Regions from separate parts of the Homo sapiens genome. Here all the other regions are linked to region 3. The links are contacts of gene promoters, found by promoter capture Hi-C in blood cells and fetal thymus (Javierre and others, 2016). All regions are on one chromosome and are shown on one strand. Each heading gives the region's core, a stretch centred on a gene start or on the middle of the fragment in contact. The rest is flanking DNA. Distances are from core to core; before and after follow the strand shown.

The links. The method cuts DNA at HindIII sites, captures the fragments that hold promoters and counts their contacts. A CHiCAGO score of 5 or more calls a contact.
Region 1: a fragment that was not itself captured here is called in contact with the fragment with the promoter of MAP2 in region 3 in 6 of 17 cell types (M0 macrophages, erythroblasts, M2 macrophages and 3 more); the score reaches 21.3 in M0 macrophages.
Region 2: a fragment that was not itself captured here is called in contact with the fragment with the promoter of MAP2 in region 3 in 6 of 17 cell types (endothelial precursors, M0 macrophages, megakaryocytes and 3 more); the score reaches 7.3 in endothelial precursors.
Region 4: a contact is called between a fragment that was not itself captured here and the fragment with the promoter of MAP2 in region 3, in 2 of 17 cell types (M2 macrophages and megakaryocytes). The highest score is 5.9, in M2 macrophages.
Region 5: a fragment that was not itself captured here is called in contact with the fragment with the promoter of MAP2 in region 3 in 6 of 17 cell types (M2 macrophages, M0 macrophages, M1 macrophages and 3 more); the score reaches 17.3 in M2 macrophages.

The regions. Positions count from the first base shown.
Region 1 is chr2:208,401,826-208,404,525 of GRCh38, reverse strand. The region is part of intron 1 of LOC105373855 (a long non-coding RNA gene); the gene reads left to right. It also overlaps a transcript of PTH2R not described here. Among named protein-coding and RNA genes, the nearest start is that of PTH2R, 3.6 kb to the left of the region's middle. The HindIII fragment of the contact is 1,934 bases long and covers 370-2,303 here.
Region 2 is chr2:208,366,991-208,369,690 of GRCh38, reverse strand. It overlaps a transcript of PTH2R not described here. Among named protein-coding and RNA genes, the nearest start is that of PTH2R, 38 kb to the left of the region's middle. The HindIII fragment of the contact is 6,349 bases long and covers 1-2,700 here.
Region 3 is chr2:209,422,730-209,425,429 of GRCh38, reverse strand. It overlaps MAP2 (microtubule associated protein 2), which reads right to left and starts at 1,383. Exons shown (of 16, transcript NM_001375505.1): 1 at 1,154-1,383. RefSeq lists a silencer at 1,313-1,702. The HindIII fragment of the contact is 4,087 bases long and covers 218-2,700 here.
Region 4 is chr2:208,418,523-208,421,222 of GRCh38, reverse strand. All of the region lies in intron 1 of PTH2R (parathyroid hormone 2 receptor), which reads right to left. Among named protein-coding and RNA genes, the nearest start is that of PTH2R, 13 kb to the right of the region's middle. The HindIII fragment of the contact is 3,446 bases long and covers 1-2,700 here.
Region 5 is chr2:208,384,213-208,386,912 of GRCh38, reverse strand. It overlaps a transcript of PTH2R not described here. Among named protein-coding and RNA genes, the nearest start is that of PTH2R, 21 kb to the left of the region's middle. The HindIII fragment of the contact is 3,994 bases long and covers 1-2,700 here.

The sequences.
Region 1 (2,700 bases), core at 87-2,586, 1.0 Mb after region 3:
TATTTGCAAAATACTTTCATATACACTATTACATTCCATTTATAATTATTAATATGCAAAGCCTATTATGGAAATACTCAGTAATTAATTTGTAGCTTAAGGGAAAATAATGAAAAGGAAGCAATCGCCAATCTTAAAGTTTCCCTACTGAGGATTAAAGAAAATTGTTAAATTCAAGGCCCACCTCAGTCAAGATAAAGCCTGAAGAAAATTAAGAAGTTGGACTTATGTGCTTGGTACCATGCCATTTCCTCTCTCTTAAATCTACACTGCCCTACTTGTTAAATTACCAATGTTCTGTCTTTGTTTCTCAAATAATTAGATGAGAACTTTCTTCTCAGTAGCCAACTAACAGCCCCAACTCAAGCTTGTCCTCCTAAGACTTAATGTTCTTCTTCTCTCTGTTCTCCCCTTACACTCTCTGACTGTAGAGGTTTTAAAATATGCCCCCAAAACTCTTGGACACACACTTTTCATTGAGAGGTGAGGGCCTATGTCTCCTTCCCATGATTATGGGCTCTATGACTGCTTGACCTATAGAATATAGTGGAAATAAACTCTGGCCTTAAGAAACTGGCAGCTTCTACTTCTAGGCTCTAGGACTTCCTTTCAGTCTTGGAATTTAGCCACCATGCTGTGAGGAAGTCTGAGACGCCCATAGAGAAGCCCAGTGCAGGCAACTGAAGATCTCAGGTCTCAATCCTAACCACTGTTCCAGGCAACAACCAGTGGCAACTCATCAGCCCTATGAATGAGCCATGTTGGAACTGAATCCTCTAACCCAAGCTCAGCTGCCTCAGTTGATACCAACTTAAGCAGAGAAGAGCCTGTCCAAATTACAGATTTCTGAGCTATGTAAGTGGTTGTACTTACTTTAAGTCATTAAGATTGGGGGTAGCTTGCTACACACCAATAATAACTGAACACCATCCTGTCATTGAACTCCCGTGCTTGCAGTGTGAAATCTAGCTGCTAGCATCTGATGTGAGAGCAATGTGATTTCATTAATTGTTAGATCAGTTAGCACCAGGATTTAATCCTGTCCAAATGCTAACTGGACAAATAGCCCCTTCTGCTTTTTGTACCTCCATTTTGTCTTTCTAAAATTAAATGGCTTTCTCAGAGTTGACACACTCTTCTGTCAAGAATTTAGGAGAGCTGCAAGTCTTCTCTAGAAATCCCATAGGATTTTAGTATGTGAAAAAATCATTTAACTTCTTCCCAATACTTAAATCATCCCTACATATGTATAGCATATTTCCTCAATAAAAAAATTCTAATCATGAAAATCTTACTGCCTCCATGGAAAACGTCTGACTGAACTAGCCAATATCATGGATTAAATGGCTATAATTTGCTGGCTATAACAATAGCTCATATTTTTAACATATTTTAACCAATTTCTTTCATAAATCTACATTCTGCAAAATATTTGCATCCAGCAAAATATCCTGATTCCCCAAACAAGCCTTAGAGATACATAAACTAAAATATCCATTTTAGGGGTAGTACCTATTTAGATGAGGAAACTATAACTCAGAAAGAAGCTAAATGATGTGCAGAAGGACACACGGCAGCCAGTGAAGACTTCAGCTTAGGTCTTCTGTTTCCACATTTATCACTTTTTCTACTATTCTACCGTGCCCCTATAGAATGCGCTTTAGCATTTCCATAGAACTTCACAGATGTACTAAGCACCTTCTCATTCATTTTCTCATTTCCCCACAGAGATAAGTTCCCAATAGAATTACATTTTTAATCCTTGTTAAACCAAAGGATCACTCAACATTACAGGCAGTATGACATATCTATGAGCAATTTATGTTGAGTCTTTCAGCACACGAAGGCATATGCTCCCAAGAATGTACCAAATACCACAAGAAAGAGAAATTTCACCTAGATAAGTAACAACCCTTTAATTTGGAGATGGATTAGGAAGGAACATTGAAAATGTCAATCTAGTTGTTTCTTTATCACTTAAAATAAGTACAAGAAACCTTGAAAAATAAAATTTGATTGAGGACTTTTTAAGATGTAGGGAGCTATGACATTTTGTTAGCAATTTATACTAGGTACTTTCTAGACAAGAAAGACCACTGTAAAAAGTAAATATTGATAAAAACAACAAAAAATGGAACATACTGGTTTTCTCCTAAAGAATTTATATGACAAAGCAAAATATCAACATGGACAAAATAACATAATATAAAAATAGCTACAGGCTGCAGAGGGAGGGACTGATTACTTTGAGGCTAAGGTTACTTGAAGAAGTCTTCCAGGATAGTGAGAAAATCTGCAAAGCTTCTCAGAAGCTATGACAAAGGGAAAGGGCATTTTTAAGTGTTTTGAATGGCAAAAGCACACCAAGAAACTGGGTGACTTATATAATGTGCAAAAACAGGAAGAAAACTGCCTTGTTGGTAAAAATAGGAAAGTGAGGAGTAGCAGGAACTGGGGTCCCTCAAAGCCTGGCTAAGACATGGCATTGCAATGAATGGTATGGTAGCCAGTCATGTGCCACCAAATGGCTGTGATACAAAAATGTTTTTGTAGGAAAAAGTGTTCTGTTGGCTCTTGTAGAACAGGTGCAGTGGAGAGGAACCAGGGAGCTGTGTAAGGGGACAACCTCTAATAACAACAACACACTGTGGCTAGCGTCTCTTAGGCACCAGAGCTTCAAGGATAATGATCCTGTCCTGT
Region 2 (2,700 bases), core at 8-2,507, 1.1 Mb after region 3:
TATATATCTTATTGCTACATAAAAATGAGACCAGGCCAGGCACAGTGGCTCACGCTTGTAATCCCAGCACTTTGGGAGGCCGAGGCTGGCGGATCACTTGAGGTGAAGACCAGCCTGGCCAACATGGAGAAATCCTGTCTCTACTAAAACTACAAAAATAAGCCGGGCATGGTGGTGGGCACCTGTACTCCCAGCTACTCGGGAGACTGAGGCAGGAGAATCGCTTGAACCGGAAGGTGGAGGGTGCAGTGAGCTGAGATTGTGCCACTGCCCTCCAGCCTGGGTAACAGAGTGAGATTCCTTCTAAAAAAAAAAAAAAAGAGAGAGAGACCAGTGTTGTTTACAGACAAGGTCATAGTGGTGGAACCTGTGAACAACCAAGTTGGAATTCTGTGTCTTTCACAACCCTTATCATCAATCATGTTGGCATCTGCACATCTTCACTTCCAATGTGCTTCTGTTAGGCTATGAGGGTAAAACAGGTTGTGAAACACCTGGCAGAGAAACCCTTTAATTTAGCCTTGGTTACTATAGAAATGTATTTTATTTATTGACCAAGTTAAGGTCCATCCATCCAACTATAGTCATGGGTGCTGGTCAAGCCAACTAGGGGAACACTTGAGCTATTCCATATCCCACTACTTTTTCCTACAAACCAGGAATATTATCCTGTAATCTGACATTCACTCACATTGAAATACTTAGTTATAATCCAAGTAACAATGACAGTGGAGGGTTGTTTAGTGCCATCTGTGAAGCCAAATCACAGAATTTGATTGCAATACATTTTTGAAATGTTACCCAGAAAAGGTCCAGTACTGTATTTATTTTCAATGTAGAGAGATTTCCTTCCAATAGTCTTACTTGGGTAAAGCACTGACCTTGAGCTTCCATGGAGGCTTCCCAGTGCCAAATTAATCTACCAGAGGAGGAGACAGAGTGACTTTGTCTTCCTGCTTATGGATACCATATGCTTTTATATATCCATTGTCCAGAATGGGTTCACCAGGTATATTTACATTGGTAGGAACAAAAACTCTTCTGCATTATGTAGATGTTAACCTAACCAGTAACCAGATTAACTATTTAAGGTGGCCAGGCTTTGAAAGATTGGAACAAGCAGGTGTTGGGGTAGTGCCAGAATTGTCAAAAAACAAAAAACAAAAACAAAAAAAAAACAGTTAAGGGTTAGTTGAGGCAAGATCCACTTTGAAAGGGATACCAATGTAGAGGAACAGCATGGAGAACAGAGAGGTGAATGGTGGGGCAGTATAAGAATACTTGCTTTGTCAATTAGGATGGCAGCTAAGTCTATTGCATATAAGCATGGAGGAATGCCTGATGCTACTTAACATGAGAAAGGTACTGTGGGACATATCTAGGTTGACATGAGAAATATGTTATGGGACAAAAAGATTGTCCTAAGATACCCACAACAATCCCATCATTTTCACAGTAATATAGGTAAAAAAGATTGTCAAAGTTGGGTAGTCGAAGGGCTGGGGTGTGGACAATGCTTCCAAGGAGGCTGGTGCCTCAGAGTACCAGGTAAAGTGCTCTGTGGTTGTATCTAAGAGGACAGCATATAAAGGTTAGACATGGGCAGCAAAATTGGGAATCCATTGGCAATATCCAGTTGCTCCTAAAAATTCACGTAATTGTTTGTCTTTGAGAGATAATGAATAAAATTGATTCAAGGCATTTTGGGACGAGTTTTTGAGTACCCTAAAATATTTTATGGCCTAAGTAGGTAAGAATTTTTTGTACCTGTTGGCATTTGGACCTGGAAGATTTATAACCTTAGTCAGTCAGTGCCTTAAGGTGAGTAAGGGAGTCCAGAAGAGCACCCTGTTTGCTTTGGTTGCAAAGTAGCAGGTCATCAACATATTGGAAACAAAGGGAACCTTGAGTGATTGTCATAGAGTCTAATTTGACTTTGAGAACTTAGAAAAATATTGAGAGGTATTCACAATATCCTGGAGGTATGCAAGTCCATGTTAACTGTTTCTTCTTAAATTTGAGGCTGGGCACAGTGGCTCATGCCTGTAATCCTAGCACTTTGGGAGGCCAAGGCAGGCAGATCACCTGAGGTCAGGAGTTCAAGATCAGCCTGGCCAATATGGTGAAAACCCATCTCTACTAAAAACACAAAAATTAGCCAGAAATCGCTTGAGTCTGGGAGGCGGAGGTTGCAGTGAGCCGAGATTGTGCCACTGCACTTCAGCCTGGGTGACAGTGACTCTGTCTCAAAAAAAAAAAAAAAAAAGAAAGAGAAAAAAATAAAAACTTTAGCTGAATTAAATTTGAAGGAGTGAAGCCAGGTGCAGTGGCTCACATCTGTAATCTCAGCACTTTGGGAGGCTGAGGTCAGGAGTTCGAGACCAGCCTGGCCAACATGGCGAAACCCTGTCTCTACTAAAAATAGAAAAATTAGCTGGGCATGGTGGCATGTGCCTGTAATCTCAGCTACTCAGGAGGCTGAGGCAGGAGAATCGCTTGAACCCAGGAGGCAGAGGCTGCAGTGAGCAGAGACTGCACCATTGCACTCCAACTTGGGCAACAAGGGTGAAACTCAATCTCAAAAAAAAAAAAAATTAAAGAAGTTTAATTGAGCCATGAATGATTCAAAATCAGGCAGCCTCCTGAGCCAGAATAGACTCTGAGACTCCAGCACACCTACGCCATGGAAGATGATTTATG
Region 3 (2,700 bases), core at 134-2,633:
TTAAAAAATCAGTCTCTTAAGTACCTATTTCCTTTTGTAACATGTATATAGTGTATTATACATTTGTGTGCATACTTGTGTGTTTAGGCATTTAAACAAAAACCCTTTACACCGGACTCAATTTTAAAGCGTCTATGTCCTGGAAGCATTGTGCTAAGAGCTTACGACAGATGGCACACAGCAATTGTCACAAACGGGCTTGTTGCTAATGAAAGCTTTTTATTTTCTGACAAAAATCCTGAAGTCCGGATGCCAGGCAGAATAACATTAATTTCCAGTTTTCAAGGATTTTTTTTCTGACTCCATCCATACCCCTCCCCCTATACACACCCAAATATACAGCTCCCCACTCCTAGCCCCCCACACACTCTTTCTTGAAATTTCCATCCTTAAACAAAAGACGAGGTGGGGGAAGGCAGGCAGCCAGCACTGCAGTCCTCCTCTCCCCACCAAAAAAGCCTTTTAAAAAGAAAAGGAAGAAAAGAATAGATGCACTGTAGATTCAGAGGTCCACCCCCAACGTTTAAAAAGAAAAACGACTGTGTGGAAGCCTAACCAGACTCATTTCTTCGTGCCCCGCCCTCCAACACCACCAGGCATTTATTTTTCATTTTCCTACAATTATAAATATCAGTCCTCCTCTCCCAGCTGTTTCTGAAGGAATTACAGAGAAACATGATTTGAAATGGACAAGGCTTCCCTCACTCACTCACTTCCCAGTGTGCAGTTCTCTGCAGCTGGATGAACAAAAAAATCCCCTACCTCGATTTCCTATTTTCCACTATCTTTGTAGAATCCACTCCCCTTCTTTCCACAGCGCAGGTAATACTGGCTTTCGATACACGTATTCTAACCTGGCGTAAGTTTTCAGTTGTTTCAAAGTGGTACCTAACAAGCTCACTCGCTCTTCTACGAAGCCAGGGCTCAGGTACCAGTAGCGTCCGGCCCCCTGCTCCGCAGTGACACCTGGAGAGGACAGGCCCGAATCTTCCGCCAGGTGCACGGCTGGCCACTCGACCAACTACCAGACTGCCTGCTGCGAGTCCCAGAGGACGAGACACAACCCCTCCCCATTCCTATCTCTTTCTACTCAGAGACCGAGGCAAAAGGAGAGGCGCCCTACATAGAGCCAGAGGTGGGGACGGTCTCTTACCTGGGCGCAGAAACTGGATGCACCCGCGGTCGCGACTGCCACCGCTCACGGACTTAGCGCCCTCCGGAGAAAAAGGAGAGGGGTAGAAGGGTTAGGGGAAGAAGGGGAGGGGGGGGAAAAAGAAGGAGAAGGAAGAGAAAGAAGCGGAAGGGAAGTAAAGGAAGAGAGGATGCTGCTGCTGCTGCTGCTGCTGCCCAGAGCCCGCGCAGCCCGAGCGCCCGCCCCAGACTGAGAGCGGCGCCCCCAGCCGGCTCCCAGCGCAGCAGCTCCGCCTCGGCCCCTCCTCCCCGCCCCGCGCAGGTCCCGCCCCGCGCAGGTCCCGCCAGACTCCGCGAGCCCGTGGGCGGCCGCGGCGGGGCTGGCGCTGCCACCGCCGCAGTGTCCGGGAGGGGGAGCACGACCGCTTCGCCTTCTGCCGCAGCCGCCGGCCGCCAGGCGGGGACCGCGAGGTGGGAGCCTCGGAGAGCCCCGCCCAGCCGCTGGCCCGGGCCTTCTCCAGAGCCCTGGTCCCCTCCCGCGACAAAGTGAGGCCAGTGCCCGGGCGGCGGGACAGGCGGGCCTTCCTCACTGGCGTCCTTGGAAAATCGGGGGCAACAGCTTTAGTCTCTCGGGAGCAACCTCCGCAGACCCCCTGCTTCCCTCCCCTGTGTCGCTATGAGGCGGGGTTGCCAGTGGCACCTCACCAGGAAAGCTCACTGGCCTCGCCTCACAAACCCAACCACAGGTGCATCCAGAAAAGACAAAGGAATGTGGGGCGCTTGAGAACATAGAACAACTCTTGTCAGCACTAAAGGAGCAATGGCTGAGGGAGTAGAGAATTCTAGACCCAGCTCTGTCACGAATTAGATTCATTCATTTATTGAGTCAACGAATGTTTATTGACACCTACTATGTGTCAGGCACTCTTCTAAGCATTAGAAACATCAGTGACAGACCTTTCCCACAACCCTAATAAGAAAGATCCCCTCCCTTTATAGTTATTACATTCTAGATAGCCAGACGTATGCTCTAGAGACAGTTCACTTAATCTAACTCTCAGTGTATTCATGTGTCATATGAGAACTAAAAATGACAGCCCAATTCTCTTATGCTTAAAAAGATAATGAATATGAAGGATCTTTGAAGAATGATACAAATACAATGAATTAGAAAGCACGGAAAGTGTTGACCTTGAAATATCACCCTTAAAAAAATTGCCTCTTAAATGCTTTTGAAAGTGAAATGACCACCTGAGAAAACAAATGATTCTTTACCATTCGTACTAAGGAGTATGAATCTTCATAATCAGAGAGCAGCATTTTATTGTAAGTAAGAAAAGTAAGATGCAACTTAGAATTACTTCGAGTGTCTATATCAAGTACTGACAAGGTGTTTTTAAGGTCAGCCAACATACTGAGGTGTGGCTTGTACAGTCTTCACAGTGCTGATGAAACAGCAGCCATAATGTGGTTCTGTCACTTAAATTAACCACAGAATCTTAGAACCTAGAACATTAGAGTTGATGTTTTAGGCAGCTGGTCTAATTTCCTCCATTTTCAGATGGAAAG
Region 4 (2,700 bases), core at 38-2,537, 1.0 Mb after region 3:
AGCAAACTGAAAATGATTTAAGAAAAACTTGTATCTATCTGTGGTATGGCTCATACACAGTTAAATGAAAACATTAAGAATGCGATCACATTGAGCTGTCATCCTTCAAAGCTATTACTCATCCTTTTCTCTTATATTTTAATTAACTACATGTGAATTTATTATAGATATTTATAGAGCTCCAATTATACTTAGAAACAAAGCACGGTTAAATTTTTAAGAGTCATATAATGATTACAGAGACAAAAAACCAATTAGTAGTTGCCAGGTGTTGCAGGGAAGGGAGAAGTAAGTGGTTGTGGCTATGAAAGGATTCCTGTGCTGGAACTATTGTATATCTTCACTGTGGTGGTGATCACATGCAACTTTACATGTGATAAAACTGCATAAACTAAATACATGTGCACACACACAAGTATGTATAAAACCAATGGAATCTGCATAAGACAGAGGGATTATATCAATGTCAATTTCCTGATTGTAATATTGTACTACAGTAATGAAAGATGTTACCATTGAAAGAAACTACGTGAAAGGTATTTAGTGTCTGTATTACTTCTTACACTGCATGTGAATCTATAATTCTCTCAAAATACAGATTTTTAAAAATTCATCTGCTAAAGTTTTTAAGGAATTGTTTAGTTTAATGACTATAACCATGAAAAACACCAATTAAATTTTAAGTTAATTATAAATTAAGTGCAATATAGTATTTTGAGCTAAAGTAAGGTCAAATATATTAAGACTACTTCATTAGCAAAAAAAAATTGAGAGCAACATTCTGCTGGCAAATATGTGTGGAAAAAATAGCCTCATACAATGCTCATGGGAATGTAAAATGTTTCCACTGCTATGGAGAAGAAATAGGCAAAATTGAAAAAGTCCTAAATGTACATTTATCTTTTGACTTCACTTTTTTTTTCTTTTTTTTTTAATTATTATACTTTAAGTTTTAGGGTACATGTGCACAATGTGCAGGTTTGTTACATATGTATACATGTGCCATGTTGCTGTGCTGCACCCATTAACTCGTCATTTAGCATTAAGTATATCTCCTAATGCTATCCCTCCCCACTCCCCCCACCCCACAACAGTCCCCGGTGTGTGATGTTCCCCTTCCTGTGTCCATGTGTTCTCATTGTTCAATTCCCACCTATAAGTGAGAACATGCGGTGTTTGGTTTTTTGTCCTTGCAATAGTTTGCTGAGAATGATGGTTTCCAGCTTCATCCATGTCCCTACAAAGGACAGGAACTCATCATTTTTTATGGCTGCATAGTATTCCACAGTGTATATGTGCCACATTTTCTTAATCCAGTCTATCATTGTTGGACATTTGGGTTGGTTCCAAGTCTTTGCTATTGTGAATAGTGCCGCAATAAACATACGTGAGCATGTGTCTTTATAGCAGCATGATTTAAAAAACAAGCAATGGAGAAAGGATTCCCTGTTTAATAAATGGTGCTGGGAAAACTGGCTAGCCATATGTAGAAAGCTGAACTGGATCCCTTCCTTACACCTTATACAAAAATTAATTCAAGATGGATTAAAGACTTAAATGTTAGACCTAAAACCATAAAAACCCTAGAAGAAAACCTAGGGAATACCATTCAGGACATAGGCACGGGCAAGGACTTCATGTCTAAAACACCAAAAGCAATGGCAACAAAAGCCAAAATTGACAAATGGGATCTAATTAAACTAAACAGCTTCTGCACAGCAAAAGAAACCACCACCAGAGTAAACAGGCAACCTACAGAATGGGAGAAAATTTTTGCAACCTACTCATCTGACAAAGGGCTAATATCCAGAATCTACAATGAACTCAAACAAATTTACAAGAAAAAAACAAACAACCCCATCAAAAAGTGGGCGAAGCACATGAACAGACACTTCTCAAAAGAAGACATTTACACAGCAAATAAAAACACATGAAAAAATGCTCAGCATCACTGGCCATCAGAGAAATGCAAATCAAAACCACAATGAGATACCATCTCACACCAGTTAGAATGGCAATCATTAAAAAGTCAGGAAACAACAGGTGCTGGAGAGGATGTGGAGAAATAGGAACACCTTTACACTGTTGGTGGGACTGTAAACTAGTTCAACCATTGTGGAAGTTGGTATGGCGATTGCTCAGGAATCTAGAACTAGAAATACCATTTGACCCAGCCATCCCATTACTGGGTATATACCCAAAGGATTGACTTCACTTTTAGGGATTTACATTTAAGTTATAGCTTCAACAATATGAAAATACATAAAGACTATACAGTGTAGTATTATTTATACATGTAAAATATTAGATAGAAAAAACTAAATGCCCACACATTTGGTACTTCTACAAAATAGGCTATTATGAAGCTATAAAAAAGAGTGAGAAAACTCTATGACCTAACATGATTTCCAGGATGTATTGTGAAGTAAGAAAAACAAAATGCAGAGAGTATAAATTGAATGCTACCTTTTGTGCAAAAAAAGAGGGAAAATATACAGATACATTTTTGTAAAACAAAACTCAAAGATAAACCAGAAAACTATGAAATTTTTTATCTTATTTCTCCCTTTAAGTGGAATATTTCTAACTACCTCATTTAGTATAATTTTTATGATAATATTTTCTAAGTACCTTTTTTCAAAGTAAATGTTCCCTTTTATGCTTATTTTATTAAGAATTTCTTTCATGGATGGGTGTTAA
Region 5 (2,700 bases), core at 157-2,656, 1.0 Mb after region 3:
TGTCTTCTCCACCCCAAATGATTCACATGTTAAAGACCTAATTCCCAGTGTGATAGTATTTGGAGATGGTGGCATTAGGAGGTAATTAGGTCATGGTGGATAGAACTCTCATCATGGGATTAGTGTCCTTAGGCACTTCCTCCCTTCCCTCCCTCTGTTCCTCCTACACTATGTGAGAATACAGCGAGAAATCTGTGATTTGCAAACCATGGGGAGCTGCAAAAGAGGAAGACTGCTCTCACCAGAAACTAATCTTGACCTTGGATTTCCCAGACTCCAGAACTGTGAGAAACAAATGTCTGCCGTTTAAGCCACACAGTCTATAGTATTTTGTTATAACAACCCAACCTGACTATTATGCATATTAGCAGGTTCTGTCTGTATCACACACACACACACGCACACACACAAACACATACATCGACTGATTGCAGTGTGCCAGGTATTGTGCTAAGAGCTCCACATATTTATGCCTTATAACTCAATTAGGTATTGACACAGATACAGTCAAGATACAGTACACAAGATATGTGAAACACAGATGCAATTATACAGCTGTACTGAATCTACATCAATACCATATATATAGCTATCTGCTTCATCATCTATGCATATCTACATCCAAGTCCATCCATCACAGCACAAACACAGAGTGACAGATGTATACACGTATCAATGAGAGTTATGTGAGATGTCTCCTCAGAGCTTAAAATGATGTCAAGAACATGAGTATGATGATGAGCACAAGTCTAAATCTGACTTTCTCTAGAATAAGGTTATTGGGACACTGTCTTGAGCCAGATATATGGAATGAATTAAAGATTTGATTATTTGAATATATTCTAGAACTTTCTGTATCTGAAGAGATGGAGGAAACTCAAGAGTAGAGAACAGTAATTTAGCTGCTTAAAACTATTGCCAGCAGAATATGGTGATGATGAATGCCCAGATTTGTGGATCTCTGAGTCAGGATAGGGGTGAACAATATCTTTATATGTTTCAATTGAGGAGGGATGCTTTGGTTAATATGAAAACGCTCTTTGAAGTTTTTGCTCAATTGACCCAGTACAATTTTGACAATAAATTTTCTTTCAAAGTTGGTTTTCTTATCTTCTGTGTTTTATTCTGTGTCTAAGTCTTCACAGGTCCTTTACAAGTTGGGAGTGGCCACATCAAGGCTGAAAGCCAGATTGAATTTCAAATCCAGAGCCCTACAAATACATTTGACTTAAGAGACTGTCTGGTACTACGTCATTGAAAAATTAGAGAATGGACCACTACAAAAAAGATGACAGTCCAGGATAGAATTGCAGCATTTTCATGACTTTGCATTGCTCTGATACCTCTGAACCAGGTCAAGCCTTCTCCTAGATGACCACAGATCTTTGTGCAGCAAAGTCTAGAAGTGGAAATGCTTGGTCAAGCCTAAGAACATTTTTAGAATTTCTATTATGTACACCAGTGGCCAGGAAAGGTGTGTTGATTTGCAATCCTATCCATAAAATTTACATAATAATTGTTAAAGTATTAATTTGACAAGCAACAAGGGTATTATTATTCTAATTTGCATTTCTTTGAATATTAGTGAAGGGAACTTTTTGATGTGTTTACTGACCACACTTACTGCTCACTTTTTAAATAACTTGTTCGTGTCCTTTACTCAAAAGGCCATTTTTTAAATCATCATAGCACACTATAATTAAATTTAAAAACACAGTTTCTTGGAACAGATCATTTCCCTGTATATTTTAAAGAAAGGTACTACAAAAAGGTATTAACACTATCAGGTAGTAAATGTAACTTGGAGAATAAGAAGTACAAAGAAAATTCTTCCATCCATTTTCTTAAAGTACAGGGCTTTTATTTCTGTTCTAAGAAGGGAGTGGTAGAAAAAAGGAGTGTTTTTCAAATGTTTGTGCTATTTTTGCTTAGGCTTTTTTATTCTAATTCTAAGCATTGAAACAGAATCAGTTTGTTGTGTATGACTTAAGAGATTGTCTGGTAATATGTGGTTGAAAATTAGAGAATGGACCGCTGCAAAAAGATGAGAGCCCAGAATAGAACTGCAGCACTTCCGTGACTTTACATTGCTCTGACACCTCTGAACCAGGTCAGGCATTCCCTAGATGACCACAGATGTTTATGCAGCAAAGTCTGGAAGTGGAAATGCTTGCTCAAAACATAAGAACATTTTAATTTCTCCTTTTGAAGTTATCACCCGAATGTGTAATTGTTTTATGGGACTATGTGCCTTTTTCATTTAAATAACAGTTCGTCTATCTAATAGAAAAAAAATTCTCAAAAGAAAACTGTGTGTGTTTAAAGAAACTAGCACTCAGCAGCAGCACTGAATTGACAATCTTTTTTACACTAAATTCTTATCAAGGGACCCATTCCTTGAGGGAGAGGTAATAGAATGGTAAGGTGTTTGGGGTTTACCAGTCCTGCATACCAAGATCAGGCTGAGAACACCTTTCATTATGTTTCTTCTCAAATCTTCAGAGCCTCTAGTTAGCACTCCTCAAACTGGATATCACGATCCTTCATACTTTCATGCATTTCTCCACACTGTCATGCCCTATTCTTACAGGCTTTTCAGACACAAACACTCAATTCTCCTGAAATCCACTGGCATAACTTCTTGATGTGAGATGTCCTCCCCGTCTCTTTCTACCAATCCAAACCCTCACCAATCCTCAC